7 separate regions of the Homo sapiens genome follow, and regions 1, 2, 3, 4, 5 and 7 are each linked to region 6. Evidence: promoter capture Hi-C in 16 types of primary human blood cells and fetal thymus (Javierre and others, 2016). All regions are on one chromosome and are shown on one strand. Each heading gives the region's core, a stretch centred on a gene start or on the middle of the fragment in contact. The rest is flanking DNA. Distances are from core to core; before and after follow the strand shown.

Region 1 (2,997 bases), core at 182-2,681, 1.4 Mb after region 6:
AGTAATGGCAGGGGACAACACTACAGAACCTAGAATAAAAGGATAATCAATTCATCCAATACAACAACTTAGATGAAATGGACATATTTTTTGAAAGACAAATTACTAACGTTATTTAAGAGGAAAGTCTGAGGTTTGTAAAAGTTAGACAGTCACCATATGACTCAGCAACATATACATCAGAAATGTCCACATGATAACTTGTACATGAGTATTCATAGCATTCATAATAGCCAAAGGGTGAGAACAACCCAAGTGTCCATCAACTATATCCACAGAAAGAGCTATTGTTCGGTCATAATAGGTGAATTGTATGGTGTGCAACAATATCAGTAAAGCTGTTTTCATAAGAAAAAGAAATAGGAAACCTGAATAGTCTCGTATATATAAAGGAAATTGAATTTGTAGTTAAAATCCTCCCTACAAAGAAATCCCAGGCCCGATGGCCTCTTTTGTGAATTCTATCAAATATTTAAGGAAGATGTGATACCAATCCTACCTACTCCAAGAAAATAGAAAAGAATACTGCATAACTCATTTTATGAGGACAGCATTATACCAACACTAAAACCAGACAAAGACATTATAAGAAAACTATAGACCGATATCTCTCATGAATTATGACTGGAAAATCCTTAAGAAAGTATTAGCAGATCAAATCCAGCAATATATTAAAAGGATATATTATGATCAAATAGGATTAGTCTCAAGAATGAGAGGTTGATTTAACAATTGAAAACTAATTTGTGTAATTTATCATATTAACGATCTTTAAATTATTATCTCAATAGATGCAGGAAAAAGGTATTCAACAAAATTCAACACCCATTCATGATTTTTTAAGAGTTAGAACAATATAGGAATAAAAAGGAATTTATTTAATCTGAAAAAGTTATCTATAAGAGCTTTCACCATACTTGATGGTGAAAGACTGAATGCCTTACCACTAAGTTTGGGACGAAGGCAAGGATGGCTGCTCTCACCATTGCCATACAATATTGCAGTGGATTTCAGTAAGTGCAAAATTGTATATTAGACTAGCCAGTCCAATAAAACAAGAAAAGTATGCAGATTGTAACGAAGTAAAATGGTTTTATTTACAGATGATTAAGTAGAAAACATTAAGATTATCTTTTTTAAAAAAAAGCTACTAGAATTAATAAAGGAGTGTAGTAAGGTCACAAAATACAAACATCAGTTGTATTTCCAGCAATTAAAAAATTTGAAATGGAAAATTAATAATATAACAATGTAAAAAGATTTAGAGATACATTTAACAAAATATATGTAAGACATGTATACGAAAAGTTATAAAACACTGCTGGGAAACATTTTTAAAGATCCAAATAAATGCAGAAATATAACATGTTCATAAATCTCAAAACTCAATATTGTTGTCACTTGTCCTCATATCAAATTATATATATCTCAGTCAAAAACACTGAAGGCTTGTGTTTTCCTGTTTAAATTGATGAGCTTAGGTCTACATGGAAACGTGAAGAAAAGAGTTAATACGATTTATAAAAGGAAAACACAACTGGAGGACTTAACACTACTTGACTTTAAGACACATAAAGCTGCATAAAGACAGTGTGGTGTTGGTGTCAATGCCCACAAATATATCAATGGAATGGAATAAGAGTCCGAAAATGCATCAGTGAATATATGGTCACTTGATTTTTGTCCCAGATACAAACAATTCAGTGGAGGAAAGATAGTCTTTTCAACAACCAATGTTGGAAGAAATGGATTTTCCAATAAAATGTATAAACTTTGATCCACACCTCCACGATATGCAAAAATTAATTTAAAATACAGAATGAATCTAAATATAAAACTGAAAAGCATCTAGAAGAAAAAACATGAGAAAATCTGTGTGACCTTGTGTTAGTCAAAGATGTCTTAGTTATGACATCATAAGCATAATCCATAAAAGGAATAATTGATAAGTTGGATTTAAAATTACTACGTGAAAGATAAGAAAATGAAAATACAAACTGGGAACTGGGAAAAACCATTTGCATAGCATATATCTGAAAAAGGTTTTGTAATCAGAATATATAAAGAACCCTGGAAACTCAGTAAACAAAAAACAGCCCAGTAAAAATGGGCAAGACATTTGAACAACACTTCATCAATTCATATAAATGGCTAATAAGCACATGTAAAGATGTGCAGCATCATTAGTAAATAGGGAAATGCAAATTAAGGTCATAATGAAATATCATTATGTGCCTATTAGAATGATGAGAATTTAAATAGACTGATCATGGCCGAGCGCGGTGGCTCATACTTGTAATACCAGCACTTTGGGAGGCCAAGACAGGCAGATCTCTTGAGCCCAGGAGTTCAAGACTAGCCTGGGACGTGGTGAAACCCCATCTCTACTAAAAATACAAGAACTAGCCAGGCATAGTGGTGTACACCTGTAGTCCCAGCTACTCAGGAGGCTGAGGTGGGTGGATCACCTGAGCCCAGGAGTTTGCAGTGAGCCGTGATCACACCACTGCAATAAAGCCTGAGCAAGAGAGCAAGACCCAGTCTCAAAAAAAATAATAATAAGATGAAAATTATTAGACTGACCATATAAAGTGTCGCCAAGAATGTGGAAAAATTCAAACTCTTATATACTACTAGTGGGAATATAAAATAGTACCCAAACTTTGCAAAGCAGTTTGGCAGTTTTTTTAAAAACAGTAAATACAGGCTGGGCATGTTGGCTCCTACCTGTAATCTTAACACTGGGAGACTGAAGGAGGAGAATTACTTGGGTCCAGGAGTTGGAGAACAGCCTGGGCAACATAGCAAGTCTGTCTCTACAAAAAAAAAAAAAAAAAAAAAAAATCCAGGCATGGTGACATGCAACTGTAGTCCTAGTTACTTGGGAGGCTGAGGTAGGAGGATCTCTTGAGCACAGGAGTTCAAGGCTGCAATGAGCTATGATTGTGCCACTGCCCTCCAGTCTGGGCAACAGAACAAGACTCTGTCTTTAAGAGG
Region 2 (3,096 bases), core at 301-2,800, 1.6 Mb after region 6:
CAAGTGATTACAGCAATTTAGAGAGGGGCAGGGAGTTGAGGATGCAAGCAAGTGGATGATTGTTGATTATTAAATATATCTACATCAAACTTCCTCAATCAGAGTGAAAACTATTAAAGGCAGTACCTTTCCTCTAGAAGGTTTTGGGCATGTATTTGCAGACCACACATGGGTGTATTGTAACAGCAGAAAGCAAGGGGCTAGAGGAAATTGTCTTACCAGAGCAAATAAACTCTGTTTTTGAATCAAGTGCTTTGTAAAGTTCTTAACGTGGTCCACGCAGCTCTGACTGTCGTGGATCCAGCCTATCAGGGCGCCTCCCCTTCACAGCAAGTTCCCACTGTTCTCTAAACTTCAGACACACTGGACCTCTTCCTGTCCCTTGCATTTTCCACATCTTTGCACATGCAGCTCCCTCTGCAGGAATGCTTTCCCCTTCCCCACTGGCCTATTCATGTCTGAGCTTTCCTGAGTAATTCAAATATTACTATAATAATAAGCTAAGTATTTGGTTAGAGTGCTTCCTTCTTAGCACTCGTCATAATTTTAATGTTTTTGTCATTGATAACTGTCTGTTAATATGCTGTAAGTTTCCCACCTTGCCTGTTTTTAGCCCCATAGAACCTAGCTCTCCCGCACATTTGTAGGTTGTAATAAACAACTTTTTTTTTTTTTTTTGAGACAAGGTCTTGCTTTGTCGTCCAGGCTGGAGTGAAGTGGTATGACTGTGGCTCACTACAGCTTTGCCCTCCTTGGCTCAAGCGATCCTCGCACCTCAGCTTCCTGAGTAGCTGGAACTACAGGCGTGTTCCCACGCCCAGCTAATTTTTTAATTTTTCGTAGAGACGGGGTTTCGCCATCTTGCCCATGCTTGTCTCAAACTCCTGAGCTTAAGCAATCCTTCTGCTTCTGTCTCCAAAAGTGCTGGGATTCCACTACTAAAGATTTGTAAACAAATGAATAGAGATGAAAGCAAATTAAGTGATATGTGAAGTCTGGTGAGGAGAGCAACATCTTTCTTTTGGAGAATTCTCGAGGCACCGGCTAATGCTATATGCCTATTCTTTTTTTTTTTTTTTTTTTTTTGAGACGGAGTCTCGCTCTTTCGCCCAGGCCGGACTGCAGTGGCGCCATGTCGGCTCACTGCAACCTCCACCTCCCAGGTTCACGCCATTCTCCTGCCTCAGCCTCCCGAGTAGCTGGGACTACAGGCGCCCGCCACCTGGCCCGGGTAATTTTTTGTATTTTTAGTAGAGACGGGGTTTCACCGTGTTAGCCAGGATGGTCTCGATCTCCTGACCTCGTGATCCGCCTGCCTCGGCCTCCCAAAGTGCTGGGATTACAGGCGTCAGCCACCGCGCCCGGCCTGCTATATACCTATTCTTTAATAATTTGCCCTGAACCTTGCAGAGGAACCTCTCTCCCTTAGACTCAGGACCCGAGATAGGCTTTGGGAGGCGCCTGCGCACTGGGCTCGCCGGATATACGCAAGGGCGTGGGGCGGAGCTCTGGTAACCCAGGCAACAGCCCGGAAGCCGCTGGCTGGGTTAACCTGTGGCGCGCTCCGCGGTTCCGGCGCCTGAAGTTTTAGCTGCGGTGGCGGCGGCAGTCGGGACCGACTGCAAGGCAGGTTGAGATGATGGATCTGAGGCTTGCAGCTCGCAGTCCCAACGAGCCTTAGGGACCAGGGCTACCAAAAGGGTGGGGAGAACGGTGGTGGCATCTGTCTGTTGCCTGGGATCCAGGCGCCCGGTTGGGGAATCCTTACTTCAGGAAGCGCAGCCGCGGCTCTGTGTTTTGAGAGTGCAAGTACGTGTCAGGGTGCGTGTCTGGGTATGTTTGTGCGTGGCGCCAGAGCACCTCGAGTATGCGCGTGCGCACCGCTTTCGGGAGCTTTTGCACAGAGCTGGTAATTGGGGGTGCTCGATTGTAGCGTTGGGGGAGTTCACCGTGTAGCAGGAGAGAGGCAAACTATCCAGGGTGCTTTGGGACCGGGAGCGTCATTTAAATCGATGGATGTCAGAGGGGCTTCTCAGAAGGCTCCTCCTGTGAGTTTTGAGGAGTCCGTGGAAGTTAACCCAGTAGAGAAGAGAGTGAGCCTAATGAGTGTTCCAAGCAGAGGGAAAAGAATGGTTGCAACTGTGTGTGAGGCGAGAGCTTGGTTTTAGGATTTGCGGGAGATGTGAGAGAACACTGGAAAGAAAAGTCAGCCGGGCCATATGGGGGAGAGGGTCTGAATGCCAAGCTGAGTTGGATTGCTTTTGACAGTGGGGAGCCATCCGAATCTAGAGGAAGTAGGTAAAGGGTTCAGATCTATTCTCTATCCATGTATTTAGGTAGGATTGATTCAACAGTGTTTGGAAAGAGTTCTTGTTTCTCTTTGATCAGTTTTCCACACCAGTCAGAGTGGATTTACTAAGTCCAGTCATAACTATCCCTTTTAAAATTCTTCAGTGGTTTCCTATGGTCTTAGGTGTTCAGATTGCTGTGGCTCACAAGACTACAATCTGCTGTCTGCCTTTCTTCCTTTAACCTCTCACCCTCTCAGATCTTTGTTAATTGAACTGAACTTCTCAAACTCTTCGTAAATGCATTTTCCCTTGCCTGGAATATTCTTTCCCCTGCTTCTAACTTTTATTCGTATTTTAGCTCTCAGTGCAAACATTTTTGGGGGTATTACAGAGAGGAGAAGCTTTTACTTACTGCATAGAGTTAGTTAGGTACTTTCATGGCACACAGAATTTACTTCCCATGCTGCCCTTTTGTTGTAAATACTTGTTTAATTGCGGTCCTCTTAGAAACTCTTAACTCTGCAAGGGCATAGACTATTCTACTTTCTTGTTATATCTGGTGCCTCGCTTTTAGATGGTGCTTCAAAATATTAGTTACATTAATAGATGGATGATGAAGTCAGTGAGTGAAGAGTGAAAGGGAGACTAATTAGAATAATGAGAGCCTGAACAAAAATATTTTTAGTAGAGATGGAGAAGAGCGGGCAAGAGAGATTTTTAGGGAAAAAGTTAATAGATTCTGTTATCTGATTCACTAAGAGATAAGGAACAGAGGTGATGCTGAGGTTTTAAATTGGAGCAACTA
Region 3 (3,134 bases), core at 41-2,540, 1.3 Mb after region 6:
AAAAAATTAGCCGGGCGTGGTGGCACGCGCCTGTAGTCCCAGCTACTTGGGAGGCTGGGGCAGGAGAATGGTGTGAACCCGGGGAAGCGGAGTTTGCAGTGAGCCAAGATCACACCACTGCACTCCTGCCTGGGTGACAGAGCAATACTCCATCTCAAAAAAAATAAAAATTAAAAAAATAAAAATAAAAAAAAAATTAAGTATATCCTTTCCAGCCTCAGCCCCGGACCCTACAGCAGCGGAGATGTTGATGCCTAAGAAGAACCGGATTGCCATTTATGAACTCCTTTTTAAGGAGGGAGTCATGGTGGCCAAGAAGGACGTCCACATGCCTAAGCACCCGAGCTGGCAGACAAGAATGTGCCCAACCTTCATGTCATGAAGGCCATGCAGTCTCTCAAGTCCTGAGGCTACGTGAAGGAACAGTTTGCCTGGAGACATTTCTACTGGTACCTTACCAATGAGGGCATCCAGTATCTCCATGATTATCTTCATCTGCCCCGGAGACTGTGCTGCCACCCTACGCTGCAGCCATCCAGAGACTGGCAGGCCTTGGCCTAAAGGTCTGGAGGGTGAGCGACCTGCAAGACTCACAAAAGGGGAAGCCGACAGAGATACCTACAGACGGAGTTTTGTGCCCCCTGGTGCCAACAAGAAAGTCGAGGCTGGGGCTGTGTCAGCAACCGAATTCCAGTTTAAAGGCAGATTTGGTCGTGGACGTGGTCAGCCACCTCAGTAAAACTGGAGAGTATTATTATTTTGCATTGAATAAACGTACAGCAAAAAAAAAAAGTAAGTATATACAATTGACAAATATTTTTAAAGATCTTAATGAATTATCAAAGCACAAAAGAATATTTAATATTAACTAGCTGGAGGGGCTCTAGGGAGGGAGTTGGGGGTTCAGCCCCCCGTCCGGCCAGCCGCCCCGTCCGGGAGGGAGGTGGGGGGTCAGCCCCCCGCCCGGCCAGCCACCCCGTCCGGGAGGGAGGTGGGGGGGTCAGCCCCCCGCCCGGTCAGCCGCCCCGTCCGGGAGGGAGGTGGGGGGGTCAGCCCCCCCGCCTGGCCAGCCGCCCCGTCCGGGAGGTGAGGGGCGCCTCTGCCCGGCCGCCCCTACTGGGAAGTGAGGAGCCCCTCTGCCAGGCCACCACCCCGTCTGGGAGGTGTACCCAACAGCTCATTGAGAACGGGCCATCATGACAATGGCGGTTTTGTGGAATAGAAAGGGGGGAAAGGTGGGGAAAAGATTGAGAAATCGGATGGTTGCCCTGTCTGTGTAGAAAGAAGTATACATGGGAGACTTCATTTTGTTCTGTACTAAGAAAAATTCTTCTGCCTTGGGATCCTGTTGATCTGTGACCTTACCCCCAACCCTGTGCTCTCTGAAACATGTGCTGTGTCCACTCAGGGTTGAATGGATTAAGGGCGGTGCAAGATGTGCTTTGTTAAACAGATGCTTGAAGGCAGCATGCTCGTTAAGAGTCATCACCACTCCCTAATCTCAAGTACCCAGGGACACAAACACTGCGGAAGGCTGCAGGGTCCTCTGCCTAGGAAAACCAGAGACCTTTGTTCACTTGTTTATCTGCTGAGCTTCCCTCCACTATTGTCCTATGACCCTGCCAAATCCCCCTCTGCGAGAAACACCCAAGAATGATCAATAAAAAATAAATAAATAAATAAATAAATAAATAAATAAATAAATAAAATATTAACTAGCTTATCCAAAGCACTATTACTTCTATTAAAAAATCCCAGGTAAGTATGTCATCTTCTGAACACACACAATGAACAATCTCAAAGGCTATTTTCTACTCCCAATAGTTGCTTACTCTATATCGCTAAAAGAATTTGCACTAAATAAATGCATATGTTGCAGATCTTTGTCTGCCTTGCCTCTGGGATCTTAATCCACATGGAATATACTATTACTCTAGCCAAGAAGAAAGTAAGTCTTTTGTTTTAAGAGTTTTTTGGTTGTTTGTTTGTTTTACATTTTGCTATATATTTTTTTACTAAGTTAATGGGCAAAAGCATAAATATTTGCCATTATTTTAAATTTCATTTCATCATTTCACATAATTTTTATTGTTTAATTAGGGTTTAAAAGGTAATAATAAAACTCATTTCTCACATACAGAATTAAATTTTTATTTTATCTTATTTTATTGAGACAGCGTCTCTCTCTGTCGCCTAGCCTGGAATGCAGTGGCATGATCACAGCGCACCATAACCTCAAATCCTGGACTCAAGCAATCCTTCCATGTCAGCCTCCCAAGTGGCTGGGACTACAGGTGCAAGCCACCACAGCCAGCTAATTTTTATTTTGTTTTGTTGAGATGGGGGTCTTACTATGTTGCTCAGGTTGGTCTCAAACTCCTGGCCTCAAGTGATCCTCCCACCTTGGCCTCCCAAAGTGTTGGGATTATAAGCATGAGCCACAATGTCTGGCCCAATATTTTAAAATAAAAAAAAAAACAAATACAACAACTAAGATTCCTATCTTTAAACTATAGAATTGAAATAAAAAATCTGAAAATCTTAAGCCATTGCTCACTATCAACAGCCATAGAGAGTTAATTCTTATTATTTAAATTAGTCTTACTGTCAGAAAGGCACTTATTAGCCAATCTGTTAAACAGCATGAGGTTACTACTGATTCAAGACAGACCAGTGTTGTAATACCATGACCCAATCTCTAATTTTATAGGTGAGGTAACTGAGGTGAGACAGGTTATGCAACATACTCAAGATGACCACACCCTGAAATCACCAGATGCAGAGCAGAGACTCTATTCCAGATATTTTGTTCGCAGTCTCCAATGTGTTCAATTATATCATGCTGCCCTCTAAATTCACTACTGTGGAACAACTGATTTAGCCAGGCTAGAACATATGAATTATTCTACATTAGTGAACTTCCCAGATCCCTGTAGCTTAACTCTGTAAATACCAATACTTTTTAAAGTTATCCATTCTTTTGCTAGAAACCTCTCTAAAGTGAAAAAGCACAACTCTAGGTTCCTTGGGTATTCCAGTGAAATGGCTCTGACATCCCTAATTATTTGCTTACATACCAGGTCATGTGCCTTATGAATACATTCCTGTTATGCTACTTGTCTTCCTTGTGTTTT
Region 4 (3,145 bases), core at 64-2,563, 1.3 Mb after region 6:
TCGTATTTTATATATTTTGAGTACTAGGTTTAGTGAGGGACACTGGTAAACCACAGGCAGGAGGTAAAACTATACTCATTTTCCCTTTTTCTTAAGGATACAAATCCAACCAAACAGAAAGAAAACAAAATTTTAATTTTGCATTTTGCCTGATAACCACATTCAGTGACCAAAGCCTTTATCCTCAACAATGTGCACAATAGTGGGAAATTATGCCGCTTCATATATTAGATGAACATGACTTAATGCATGATAATTAGGAATTAATTTAATCAAAACAGAATTTGCTCAACATCTGGTATTATCACACTGGGATGGAAAAGTAAAATTTAGGCAACTTACTGAGTAATATGTATAAAAGATAATTTAGCTAGGCTTGGTGGCTCACGCCTGTAATCCCAGCACTTTGGGGGGCCGAGGCAGGCGAGTCACAAGGTCGGGAGATTGAGACCATCCTGGCCAACATGGTGAAACCCTGTCTCTACTAAAAATACAAAAAAATTAGCTGGGCATGGTGGCGTGCACCTGTAGTCCCAGCTACTTGGGAGGCTGAGGCAGGAGACTCGCTTGAACCCAGGAGGCGGAGGTTGCAGTGAGCTGAGATCGCGTCACTGCACTCCAGCCTAGTGACAGAGTGACACTCTGTCTCAGAAAAAAAAAAAAAAAAAAAAAGAGACAGACTTTAAAATGTTCCAGGTCTCTAACCCAATCATTCCACTTCTGGGACTCCATACTAAGAAAATGCACAAAACCAACTACACACAACTACATGGTTGTCCACACCAATAACTGGAAATTTTCTTTTCTTTTCTTTGTTTTTTTTTTTTTTCAGACAGAGTTTTGCTCTTGTTGTCCAGGCTGGAGTGCAATGGTGTGATCTCAGCTCACCGCAACCTCCACCTCCCGGGCTTAAGTGATTCTCCTGCCTCAGCCTCCTGAGTAGCTGGGATTACAGGCATGCACCATCACGCCCAGCTAATTCTGTATTTTTAGTAGAGACGGGGTTTCTCCATGTTGGTCAGGCTGGTCTAGAACTGACCTCAGGTGATCCACCCGCCTCGGCCTGCCAAAGTGCTGGGATTACAGACGTGAGCCAATGCGCCCGGCCAACAACTGGAAATTTTCTAAGTGTCTAAGAATAGAAAAATATTACTCTCCAGCCACAAAACAATGCTACAGAAGAGTAATGACATTAAAAAATACCTGTGATGTTAATTTGACACAATAAGCATGTAAATAGAAATCATCATTACTACAGGTATATTTCTTCTTCATCCTCTTTCTATGAATATATAGTTTTTTAAGACAATATTTGGATCAAGTTACATATGGAAGTTTTTTCACTCTGTGCCATAAGCATTTCTCCATGTCTTTGAATATTTTTGACAAAAATGGTAATGCCTTCATAATATCTATCTTATGGACACACCATAATGTACTGTTGGCTCTGTTCATTCTTGGGTGACATTTAAGAAATTTGGTTTAGCGTAGTGGCTCATGTCTGTAATCCCAGCGCTTTGGGAGGCTGAGGCAGGCAGATCACCTGAGGTCAGGAGTTCAAGACCAGCCTGGCCAACATAGAGAAACCCCCGTCTCTACTAAAAATACAAAAATTAGCTGGGTGTGGTGAATGCACCTGTAATCCCAGCTACTTGGGAGGCTGAGGCAGGAAGAACTGCTTGAACCTGGGAGGGGGAGGTTGCAGTGGGCCAGGATCGTGCCACTGTACTCCAGCCTGGACAACAGAGCAAGACTCCATCTCAAAAAAAAAAAAAGAAAAAAAAAGAAAAAGAATTTAATAAACGACCGTGTATATCCGTATCAAAATTCTGATTACTTCCTTTGTTTATTTATCTCAAGGTGAAATGACAAGACTAAAAAGGTGTAAATGTTTTTAAACTCTCAATGTAGTGCTTACCTATTTGTACAGGTTTACTTTCAATCTATAGTGTGAACACACACACAAAATATATATATAATTTAAAAATTTTTATATTACATATACACTCAGAGAATCATTCTCAGTAGGTGGTTAGTAAATATGCCTGGATGTCATGACAGAAATAAATACAATTCAACTGATCAAATATTTTAAAAACAATCTTATACATTTGAGTTCCTACTAATAATTTCATTTAATTATCTATTTTTATCTTGTGTACTTCCAAAAGAACAAGAGGCCACTTAAAAGTTAAAAAATGGCTGGATGCGGTGGCTCACGCCTGTAATCCCAGCACTTCGGGAGGCCGAGGCGGGTAGATCACATGAGGTCAGGAGTTCAAGACCAGCCTGGACAACATGGTGAAACCCCGTCTCTACTAAAAATACAAAAAATTAGCTGGGCGTGGTGGCAGGCACCTGTAATCCCAGCTACTTGGGAGGCTGAGGCAGGAGAATCGCTTGAACCCAGGAGGTGGAGGTTGCAGTGAGCCGAGATTGTGCCACTGTACTCCACCCTGGATGACAGAGCAAGACTGTCTCAAAAAAAAAAAAAGTTAAAAAATGACCTGCAGTACATGATATTTAAAAGAAGTAAACAGAGAAGATGTCATTTCAGAAGAACACATGTGCTAGAGGTTAATAGGCACTTGGAGTAAGGCAACTGTTGCTCAGCTATGAAGTAAGCTCTAATTTGCCTGGCAACTAAGACAAAAGGGAATACACATCAGCATTTATTTTAGACGTGACATACTAATTTTTTTTGTTTTTTGAGACTGGGTCTCACTGTGTTGCCCAGGCTGGAGAGTAGTGGTGGGATCATGGCACACTGCAGCAGCCTTGACCTCAGCCTCCCAGATAGCTGAGACTACAGGTGTGTGCCCCACACCTGGCTAATCTTTTGTATTTTTTGTAGAGACGGGATTTCGACATGTTGCCCAGGCTGGTCTTGAACTCCTGGGCTCAAGTCATCCTCCTGCCTGAGCCTTTGAAAGTGCTGGGATTACAGGCATGAGAACCACTATGCCTGGCTGATATACTAATTTTTATCATTAGAATTCCTATTTGAACATAACTTTGAGGTCTCTACTGATTTTACAAAACCTGAACATGTGTGAAAATAACTGCAAGTTTTACAGCCCAGGTTTGGGACTCAAAATAGCTAGAAAAATTAAAAAGAAGCATTGCACTTTGTGAGGCCAAGGCG
Region 5 (3,234 bases), core at 14-2,513, 1.4 Mb after region 6:
CAAGAAAAACCAGTTTTTAAAAAATTGACAAGAAATCTGAACTAATTAATTTATCAAAGATGATAACATGAATGGCAAAGAAATACATGAAAAGATGCTCACTTCATTTATTATTTAGGGGGATGCAAATTAAAAACCACAATAAATTGTCACTACATACCTGTTAGCATAAATTTTAAAAGTTAACAATGCCAAATGCTGATGAAGATTCAGAACAGTAGAACTCCTATACACTTAAGACCTAGCATTCCCACTCCTAGGTATTTACTAAGAGAAATAAGAACTTATGTTCATACCAAAACTTATATGTAAATGTTTATAGGAATTTTACTTGCAGTTACCTAAAATTGTAAACAACTGCTCTTCAACAAGAGGATAAATTTACAGTACATCCACATAATGGAATACCATTCAGCATTAACAAGGAATGAGCTATTGATATGCACAACACCGGGGTGAGTCTCAGACATTATGCTAAATGAAAGAAACCAAACAAGCAGCTATGTATTTTGTGATTCCATTTATGTGACATTCTTGAAAAGGCAAAACTTTGGGGAACAGAAAAGAGATTTGTGGCTGCTTGGGAGTTGAACTTTAAAGGGTCATGTGGGAGGTTTTGGGAGTAATTAAATTGTATATTTTGGTAATGGTTACATGATTATATGTATTTGTAAAAACTCAGAACTATACACCAAAAAGATGAATTTAATTTTATGTAAGCTTTAAAAAGTTTTTTTTTTTCTTTTTTTTTTCCGAAAGCCAAGGAATCAATCAAAACTGATGCCCATAAAAGGCAGGAAAATGAAGAACAGTTAATACTTGGTACAAATAGAAAATTGCAAGCTGATGGACTTGAATCAACTAAATCAGTAATTCAATAATTACATTAAATCTTTTTTTGAACAGTCTCACTCTGTCACTCAGGCTGGAGTGCAGTGGTGGCGATCTCGGCTCACTGCAACCTCTGCCCTTGGGTTCAAGCAATTCTCCTGCCTCAGCCTCTCAAGTAGCTGGGACTAAAGGCACGCGCCACCACACCTGGCTAATTTTTTGTATTTTTAGTAGAGACAGGGTTTCACCATGTTGGCCAGGCCAGTGTTGAACTCCTGGCTTCAAGTGATCCACCCGAGTCAGCCTTCCAAAGTGCTGGGATTGCAGGTGTGAGCCACTGTGCCTGGCCCATTAAATCTTAATGGACCAGATACTCCAATTGTCAGATTAAAAGAATAAGATCCAACTATATGCTATTTACACACACTTTAAATATAAGGACACAAGGAAAAGTAAAAAGAAAAAGGTAAAAGATAGAACATGAAACTTTGATTTGAAGGAAGCTGTAAAGCCAGGCCTGGTGGCTCATCCCTGTAATCCCAGCACTTTGGGAGGCTGAGGCAGGTGGATTGCTTGAGTTCAGGAGTTCAAGACCAGCCTGAGCAACATGGTGAAATCCTGTCTCTACCAAAAATACAAAAACAAAACAAAACAAAAATAGCTGAAAGTGGTGGCATGCATTTGAGGTCTCAGCTACTTGGAAGGCTGAGGCAGGAGGATCCCCTGAGCCCGTAGGCGGAGCTTGCAGCAAGCCAAGACTGTGCTACTGCACTCTAGCCTGGGCAACAGAGTTGAGACCCTCATCTCAAAAAAAAAAAAAGAAAGAAAGAAAACTGCGTATTAATGAACAAAGTAGACTTTAAAACAAGGAGTATTGCCAGCAAAAAGGATATTTCAAAATGATAAAAGCGTCAAATTATCAACAGTAGTCCTAAATATTTGTGCACTTTCTAATTTGAAAATACCTGAAGCTTTCTTTTATTGATTGAATGAAACAGCAGAAAGGAAGAAACACTTCCAAACTTTCTTTGAGGCCAAGATAACCCTGATAAGAAAACATATCAAGAATATTACAAGGGCTGGGTGCAGTGGCTCACGCCTATAATCCCAACACTTTGGGAGGCCAGGGTGGGCGAGCCTATCACTTGAGGCCATAATTTCAAGACCAGCCTGGCCAACATGGTGAAACCCCATCTCTACTAAAAATACAAAAATTAGTTAGGAGTGGTGGCACATGCTTGTAATGACAGCTGTTTAGGAGGCTGAGGCAGGAGGATTGCTTGAACCCAGGATGCGGAGGTTGCAATAAGCTGAGATTGCACCGCTACACTCCAGCCTGAGCAACAGAGGGAGACTCCGTCTCAAAAAAAAAAAAAAAGAAAAGGAAAAAAGTGTATCAAGAGTAAGCCTTTTTGAGATACCATGTGAACAAAGACTTGGAGTTAACATATACTGCAGCCAAGGATGGAGAGGCCATCAATTGACAGGAAAAACTGCAAGCAAAGCAGATTTTGGAACAAAGATTTGAAATTGTTTGCAGTATGTTCACTTTGAAGTGTCTGCTGGAGATTGCTTGGATCTAGGAATGTAGAGTTCAGGAGTGAACTATAGGCTAGAGACAGAAATTTGGAAATTGGCAGCATTAAAGCCACACAACTACAAGATTGAATGAGATCACCAAGAGAATAATTATAGAGAAGATAACCAAATGCGTCCATATACGAGGCCGTCATAAAATTGGTTCTTTTTCAGCTTCCGCATTTATACACAAGCATACTTGATGTTTTAGCCATATCAAACTGACTGATTTTCGGACTACATCACTGCTGTTTTGTTCATGTTTTATTAGACTGCATCTCTTGCCCTTCCACAGGATAAGCTAGTCGTTCTTCAAAATGTTTCCCATTGTCACCTTCATTCTAGTATTATTTTTGTACTATATGTACATACACTGTTAGTAGCACATTGTATATACCTGTCTTTCCTACCAGATGTAAACACCTTTGCATTCCAGATGCATAACACATAGATACTCAAATATTTATTGAAATATAATTGATTTATGCTTTAGGCAACTCTATTATGTTCATAAGAACTTTAGAAAAATTTAGATTGACAGAATTTTTTAAATCTCCATTAGGTTAGTTTTTTAATAGAGAATTTGGACTTTTAACTTAATTTTTTATAGGTTATTCTAACTAAAACCTTTTTGGTTGTTTACATTCAAGTAATGTTATTTTCTTGACATGTCTACATATCCCTTATGCTTATGCCTTTTTTTTTTTTTAACTCCGTGTTCCTTGCTAACTTATATTTACAAGTTGATTATAGTACTTTGATATATTTAGAAAATCCATGTCTTAAAATAATTTGGAGCTAAGTGATCAGGATTACAGAAGTATT
Region 6 (3,009 bases), core at 504-3,003:
TTTTTTTCACCAGGGCCAATTTATTTTGCTTAGTTTCTGTCAAAGACCTCTAACCAGGCATCTTATGTGAAAGCATGCTGTACGTTCCAAAGAAGCCTGGGTTAAAATCCAGATGACTTAAGTCTATTGGAAATTATACATCAAATCCATGTCCTAGAAACAATGTCATTTTCAAATCCCAAGTACAGTGTATTCTTTGCATGCATGGTATTTTTGATAAAGTCTCTTATTTTGTGACAAAATATTGCTATATCAGCTGCCTAAAAAAGTGCAACTTAGTTTGGCAGTAATTATTTTTTTTTCTTTGTATAGTGAAAAGCGATTTCCCCAACCCTCCCATCTTGGCCCTTGTAAGAAATCCTTTTTAGGAATCTATCCTGGGCTTCCTGCTGGACTTCAGCCTCATTTTTTTCTCCAATGCCTGAGTACTGGACCAATATTTGGTAAGAATTTGGCTCTGGGGAGTGCTATGTTGAATGACAAATGGTTGAGGACGAAGATTTTATTGAAGCATTTGAACCACACTTAATTTTCCGTGTTGCTTTATTTGTTCCTTTTACCACCCAGGATATTGAATTCTGTGGGCTCTGGTTGAGTCGTTGGTACTTCAGGCGTTCAGTAATAAGAAACATAATCTGCTTTTTCCGGCAGGATAATAAATCTCATTTATATTAAGGGAGGCTTACTCCAAACTCTTTTACATAGTATTTTTCTAAATCTTCTGCATGAACAAATTCTTCCTTGAGCCCTAGCACTGGGGACCCGGTCTGGCAACCTGCGCCCCATTCCGCGGGAATCAAGCGTGACCCGGTGCGGCCTTGCGCGCTGCCGCCAGCCAGACCCTCCCTCCGGCTTTCCCACCCACCGCCCGGGATCCAGCCTCCATCCCGCTGCCTCAGCTGTCCAAGACAGCGACACCCCCCTCTCCGCTCCCGCGGCTCCCCCGGCGCAGCTCGCCGCGCCAGACAGCGGGTAACCGCCGCCTCCGCTGGGGCATCCCGGCTCCACAGGCCCAGCGCGCTCCAGACACCTGCCTCTCACTGGCCACCGCCGCTGCCCCTCACCCCGCAGCCCTCTCGGCAATTGGCCCCAGGCCGCCGCTCGTCATCCTCAGCCTTCTCCTAGAGTACCGCCTCCGTCGCCGGGTCATTTAAGTTTATCACAAATAAATAAATAAAGGAGGAAATAGAAATGCGTAGAAAGTAAAAGCAGTAGGGGGTGGGGGAGATGGGGCGTGGAGGAAAAGGAGGGAGGAGCGGAGGAGTAAGCAACCTAACCTGATTGCGCCTGTGTCGACCAATCATGGCTCACTCCAGTCCGGTCTGACGGGCTCCCTGAACCAATAGCCTTCCACCTCCCGGATCACTGAACAACGAGATACGATTGACCTTTTCAGAAAGGGTGAAGGTGCGGCGGGGGGAGGGGGTTGTGGGGGTGGGCGAAGTGGAAGGATTGTCCACCAATCGCCTGTTAATACTTCTCTGAGCGAAGTTTCCGCGTCCCAATGGATGTTTGAGATAGCGGATTGGGCCTCTTTTAGCCCAATCGAAGGTGACAGAGATGAGGGAAGAGGAAGAAAGGGGCGGGGACGGGGGGGCGGAGGGGAGAAGGAAGAGTGCATTTTGTTTATGGGCGGCAACCTCACGAGGGGCGTCCCATTCTCATTGGCTCACTGAAGCCAAGATTGGCGTGAGAGCTATCCTATAGCGGGGAGAGATAGAGGGTTCGCGGAGTGAAGCGTCCAATGTGGGCCTTCTGCCGAAGAAGTAGGGGCGGGGGGAAGTTTAGGAGTTGAGGAAAGAAGATTAAAGAGCGCGAGGAGGTAATGCCACAAACTCTAATTTGTTGTGGGACGGGCGGGAGAGAGGGAGGAGTGTGTGCGTGCCGAGGGGGATGAGGCGTCTGCGAGGCGCCTGGAGTGGGGGGCGGCGGGACTGGGAAGGAGGGGAGCGGGGTGGGGTTGGGGGAGCGAGTTACAGAGCGGCGAGCCAGCGGGCCCTGAGCTGGATGAGCGCGCGCGCCCCCGCGCCCCGCCCCGCCCCGCCCCGCCCGCGCCCCCTCCCCCGGCGCCCTTCTTAGCGCCCGGCGGCTGCCTCGCCCGACCCGGCGGGGAGGTGGGAGGGAGGCGCGGGAGGGTCGAAGGGTGGCGGGGCGGGCGGGACGTCCCGCAGCTGGAAACGTGTCTTCTGCCTTCTTCTCTCTACTCCCTGCGCCTGGAGCCGCTGCTTCCAAGAAGAGGAGCTGAGGGGGACTAGCCGGGGCTCAGGAGCTGCTAGAGGCGCCCGCTTGTCTTCTGCCCCCTCCCTCCTCGCCCTCCCCCGCTTGCCGTGGCTCTCGCGGTCTCTGGAGCGTCTTCAGAGAACTGGGGGGCAGGAGGTGTCCTGGCCCCACAGCCGCTGGATGTCTCTCCAGACGCCGGAGCTCCCGGCCCCCGCCTGCTTCGCTTCTACGACTAGAGAGGAGGGGGCTTGGGAAGGGAAGACACACCTTTCCTTCTTTCTCTTCTTTGGGCCACTTCGGAAACATTAAAACATGTTAACACTTTTTGATTCCTGATATAAAAATGGTTGGAAGGTTCTTGAAAGTTTAAAACAAATGCCGTCTCTCGTACACTGTTTAATGTATTCCTGTCTGTGTGGCTTTTGGGTCCTCCCCCCACCCCCCGCCCCCAGCTGTTATCCTTTTTAAGGATGCTGAAGAGGCAGGAGGCAGGGATTTTCTAAAAGTTCTATTGATAAACACACTTGCACAAACATATGCTAGGCACACACACAAACTAAACATTAGCGAAAAACACAATATGGCGTACAGCTACGGTACCTAGCGCGGTAATCCGCTGATCTCTCACTCCGAACTGGGTTGAATGAGGTCAGTAGCAGGATGACAGCTCTCCAATGAAAATCTGAATGAATCAGGAAGTAGTTTGGAAGCTTGCGGGTGTAGTACTGTCCTCAGAATCAGCATTGGCCAAACCTAAGTTGAACATGTTACCTTTCTAGACATGTGAAA
Region 7 (2,791 bases), core at 286-2,785, 1.4 Mb after region 6:
ACCTCCTGTTTTGAAGACAGTATTCCTTCAACTGTCCTCTCTGCAGAGAAGAAAAAGTAAAAGCCCTTCTTTTACTTTTCTAGTCCCATCCGAAGCACGTGAACATCTACGGAACCTTCCCTGCAGGTATGTCAGATAAAATCCTTAGAATCACTGAGAAAGCACATTCGGAGGGAAGCTTCACAGTGACTCTGCAGTGAGGGCCGTATCAGTGACAGTCCCTCCCAAGCCTGTCTCACCGGAGACGCCTCTGCCTCCAGGGTTTTTGCTACCTCCCCGCTCCTCAGCCCTGAGCTGAGGGTAAGGACAGTGAGGACCTTTGCCAAAGAATGGGCTTTAAGGAATGGGACCTAATGTCTACTGCAGACCCTGTGAAATGGCTGAAACAATCTGCTACCCGAAGCCCCAAAGGCTCTGAGTAGGGAACCATAATGGCCGCACTCACTTCCAACCCTGGGAAAGGTGGACATCTGAATCCCCAAGTAGCGGGAACGACCACACTTGGGGGAGCGGGGGTTAAGGAGAAATGAGCTCCTTGCCGGTGCAGGGTGACAGCGGGGAGGAAGCCTCAGGCAGAAAAGTCGCCGTTCACACTCTCCCTTCTCTCCTTCCTCTGCCTCCTTCCACCCCCTCTATCCCCACCACTCGCCAGTTACCGGTCGCCGCTCACCTGCTGGGGCGCGAGGTGCAGAGACTGTACCGACCGAGGACCCAGAGGCTGTCACCACGGAGGGGAAGTCCTCAGCTGCACAGGTTGGGGGGGGGGGGGGGGGCGGGCCCAACCAGTCACATGACGTCGAGCTCCGCCCTGCCTCCTCCATCCCAGCGCTCTACATCTCGGGGGGCCTGAATTTTTACGGATCCCTTGAATATTAATTTTCTTGGATTAAAGAAATAAAAGATAAATTTTCACAAAGAGTATGTTATAAAGTACAATGTGGAAAATGTGGACAGCAAGAGTTAAAGCGCATTGCTAAGGAAGTGACGTTCACGCCACAATCGAGGGACAGGAAATGGCGGTGGCGTTCCGTCCCTCTGGAGTCCGCCGGTAAAATTCCAGGCTCTGAGGTTTGGGCCAATCACGTGATCTTAAAACTTGAGGCGTGCTGGAGGGTAGCCAATCTATCTGGCCGATTGTTAACTACGTTTGTTTTAAAACACCTAACTTAAACTTGAGCTTTCCACAGATTTCTTTACATTTAGAAGAACTAACTTTATAAAACCCTACTAGGAGGCAACAGCGTTTGAAGGTCACTCTGGAGACCACAAACTGGGAAGAACGGGGCTGAGAAAAACTATCTTGCGGATATGGGACAAGAGAGGGAGGGGTGGAAAAATCTGGATTTTACCGCCAGGGCCTACCGAGCCAGCCCCACAAGCAGTGTCGTAAGCGGGTGGGAGGGAGGAGCATGACCCCAGAAGGCCCAGTCCAGGAGAAAGATGGAGGTTCCGGAGTGGAGGGGGCAGGGTGCGCGGAGGCGAGCAGTGCGGCTGCGCGTGAGGCGGCGGCGCGCCGGCGCGCGAGGGGCGGGGTGAAAGGTCACAGCGCGGCAGCGGGTCTGGCTGGCGGCAGCGGCGGGAGGGAGCCGAGAGACCCGAGTGCACGTGTGGAGAAGCGGCGGCACAAGCGCGGCGGCGGGAGACACTCCCGCCCCCACCAGACTCAAGCCCTCACTCGACTCTCGCGGCCTTCGTTGCTCGCACAGCTCCCTGCCCAGGCTAGGAGGCCGGCTTGCGGGGTTGAGTGGCCCGAGCTAAGGGTGCGGAGACCTAAGGGCGGCGACTACGACGGCGTTGATATCGGTGGTAACGACGGCCTCAGCAGGCGGGGAAGATGAAAGGGTGAGGAAGGGCAGCCGGGCAGGGCCCGGCCGGTGGGGTAGAAGGGTCCGGGCCCATGTAGAGGGGGAGAGCCGCAAAGGCGAGGAGAGATTCAGGGCGAAGACGGGCGGAGGGAGATTTCTCTGCTTCTCAGTTCCCTCGGCTCCCGGAGGGGGCGGAGGCGAGGCTCGGGCTGTTGGCGGGCTGAAGGGCCAGCGGAGGCAAGACCCGGGGGGCTTCAGGGTTTCGGTTCGGAGACGAGTGTGGGTTGTTGAGTGGGGAGAAGCGACCGAGTGGGGCAACATGGAAAGGCTATTGTGAAGCGCCCGGGGCCTCCTTCCCGGGAGCGGACCGCTGAGCCACGCCGGCCCGCAGCTCCAGGTGGAGTGGTTTGGTTGTCTTCCACCTCCAGACTCAACTCTGGAACTGCGGTGTTTGACACCTTTCAGTTTAATTCACGCTTGGGAGCTGTGCAGAACCTTCTGGAGGAAGAAGAAATTGGAATAAAGAGCACGGGGATGAGTATTAAGAGCTAGTGACTCAACTAGATTTGGGTTGGGTCACAGCGAGTGGAGGAGGGGGAGAGAGCGCGATCACTGTAGACTTGGGGTGCCAACATATTTAAGGAAGTATAGGGTGGATCAGTAGGTGGAGCTGTTGCTTCAGTAGTTCACTATTGCCCCTGAGTGCTGAGGCGGTCCTGGGTAGTTCTACCACGCTGCTCCTTTCAGGTGATTGGCAAAGTTAATGTTCGGTCTTTCACCGTTTGCCTCTTACGTAAAATTAGGAATTATTTTGGATCGACTGGTTAAGTTTTTATGAAATGTCTCCTTACCATTAAGTTGTATAGTTTTAATGTATTAATTACGTAACATTTTTCCGAAGCATTGTCTCAAGCCGTTTTGGAGCTTGTCTTTACCCTCAAAGAGATGAAGCTCATAAACGTTAAAAAGCTCTCTGCGATGCCATA

What was found. Contacts are between HindIII fragments. The CHiCAGO score rates a contact against its expected background, and 5 or more counts as called.
Region 1: a contact is called between a fragment that was not itself captured here and the fragment with the promoter of ZBTB20 in region 6, in 1 of 17 cell types (neutrophils). The highest score is 9.5, in neutrophils.
Region 2: a contact is called between the fragment with the promoter of SPICE1 here and the fragment with the promoter of ZBTB20 in region 6, in 1 of 17 cell types (neutrophils). The highest score is 5.6, in neutrophils.
Region 3: a contact is called between a fragment that was not itself captured here and the fragment with the promoter of ZBTB20 in region 6, in 1 of 17 cell types (neutrophils). The highest score is 10.2, in neutrophils.
Region 4: a fragment that was not itself captured here is called in contact with the fragment with the promoter of ZBTB20 in region 6 in 1 of 17 cell types (neutrophils); the score reaches 6.1 in neutrophils.
Region 5: a fragment that was not itself captured here is called in contact with the fragment with the promoter of ZBTB20 in region 6 in 1 of 17 cell types (neutrophils); the score reaches 8.5 in neutrophils.
Region 7: the fragment with the promoter of NAA50 here is called in contact with the fragment with the promoter of ZBTB20 in region 6 in 4 of 17 cell types (neutrophils, fetal thymus, monocytes and 1 more); the score reaches 14.9 in neutrophils.

Annotation. Positions count from the first base shown.
Region 1 is chr3:113,709,534-113,712,530 of GRCh38, reverse strand. No RefSeq gene overlaps it. Among named protein-coding and RNA genes, the nearest start is that of USF3, 14 kb to the right of the region's middle. The HindIII fragment of the contact is 3,661 bases long and covers 1-2,997 here.
Region 2 is chr3:113,513,610-113,516,705 of GRCh38, reverse strand. SPICE1 (spindle and centriole associated protein 1) reads left to right here and starts at 1,550. Exons shown (of 18, transcript NM_144718.4): 1 at 1,550-1,809. SPICE1-CFAP44 (SPICE1-CFAP44 readthrough (NMD candidate)) reads left to right here and starts at 1,550. Exons shown (of 52, transcript NR_183050.1): 1 at 1,550-1,809. RefSeq lists enhancers at 208-257, 318-367, 878-927, 1,634-1,683, 1,744-1,863. The HindIII fragment of the contact is 3,693 bases long and covers 1-2,694 here.
Region 3 is chr3:113,847,842-113,850,975 of GRCh38, reverse strand. All of the region lies in intron 2 of GRAMD1C (GRAM domain containing 1C), which reads right to left. It also overlaps the pseudogene RPS10P4. Among named protein-coding and RNA genes, the nearest start is that of GRAMD1C, 11 kb to the right of the region's middle. The HindIII fragment of the contact is 5,215 bases long and covers 1-3,134 here.
Region 4 is chr3:113,805,815-113,808,959 of GRCh38, reverse strand. The region is part of intron 14 of ATP6V1A (ATPase H+ transporting V1 subunit A); the gene reads right to left. Among named protein-coding and RNA genes, the nearest start is that of GRAMD1C, 31 kb to the left of the region's middle. The HindIII fragment of the contact is 5,942 bases long and covers 1-3,145 here.
Region 5 is chr3:113,727,964-113,731,197 of GRCh38, reverse strand. The region is part of intron 1 of NAA50 (N-alpha-acetyltransferase 50, NatE catalytic subunit); the gene reads left to right. Among named protein-coding and RNA genes, the nearest start is that of NAA50, 17 kb to the left of the region's middle. The HindIII fragment of the contact is 1,082 bases long and covers 723-1,804 here.
Region 6 is chr3:115,146,032-115,149,040 of GRCh38, reverse strand. ZBTB20 (zinc finger and BTB domain containing 20) reads left to right here and starts at 1,753. Exons shown (of 12, transcript NM_001348800.3): 1 at 1,753-1,822. RefSeq lists silencers at 758-977, 1,538-1,707, 2,018-2,287 and enhancers at 1,028-1,237, 2,968-3,009. The HindIII fragment of the contact is 9,545 bases long and covers 1-2,932 here.
Region 7 is chr3:113,744,993-113,747,783 of GRCh38, reverse strand. NAA50 (N-alpha-acetyltransferase 50, NatE catalytic subunit) reads left to right here and starts at 1,535. Exons shown (of 5, transcript NM_025146.4): 1 at 1,535-1,842. The coding sequence starts at 1,835. ATP6V1A (ATPase H+ transporting V1 subunit A) reads right to left here and starts at 749. Exons shown (of 15, transcript NM_001690.4): 1 at 671-749. RefSeq lists enhancers at 792-1,161, 483-1,218, 1,219-1,954, 2,202-2,351, 1,955-2,691 and a silencer at 1,512-1,631. The HindIII fragment of the contact is 6,662 bases long and covers 181-2,791 here.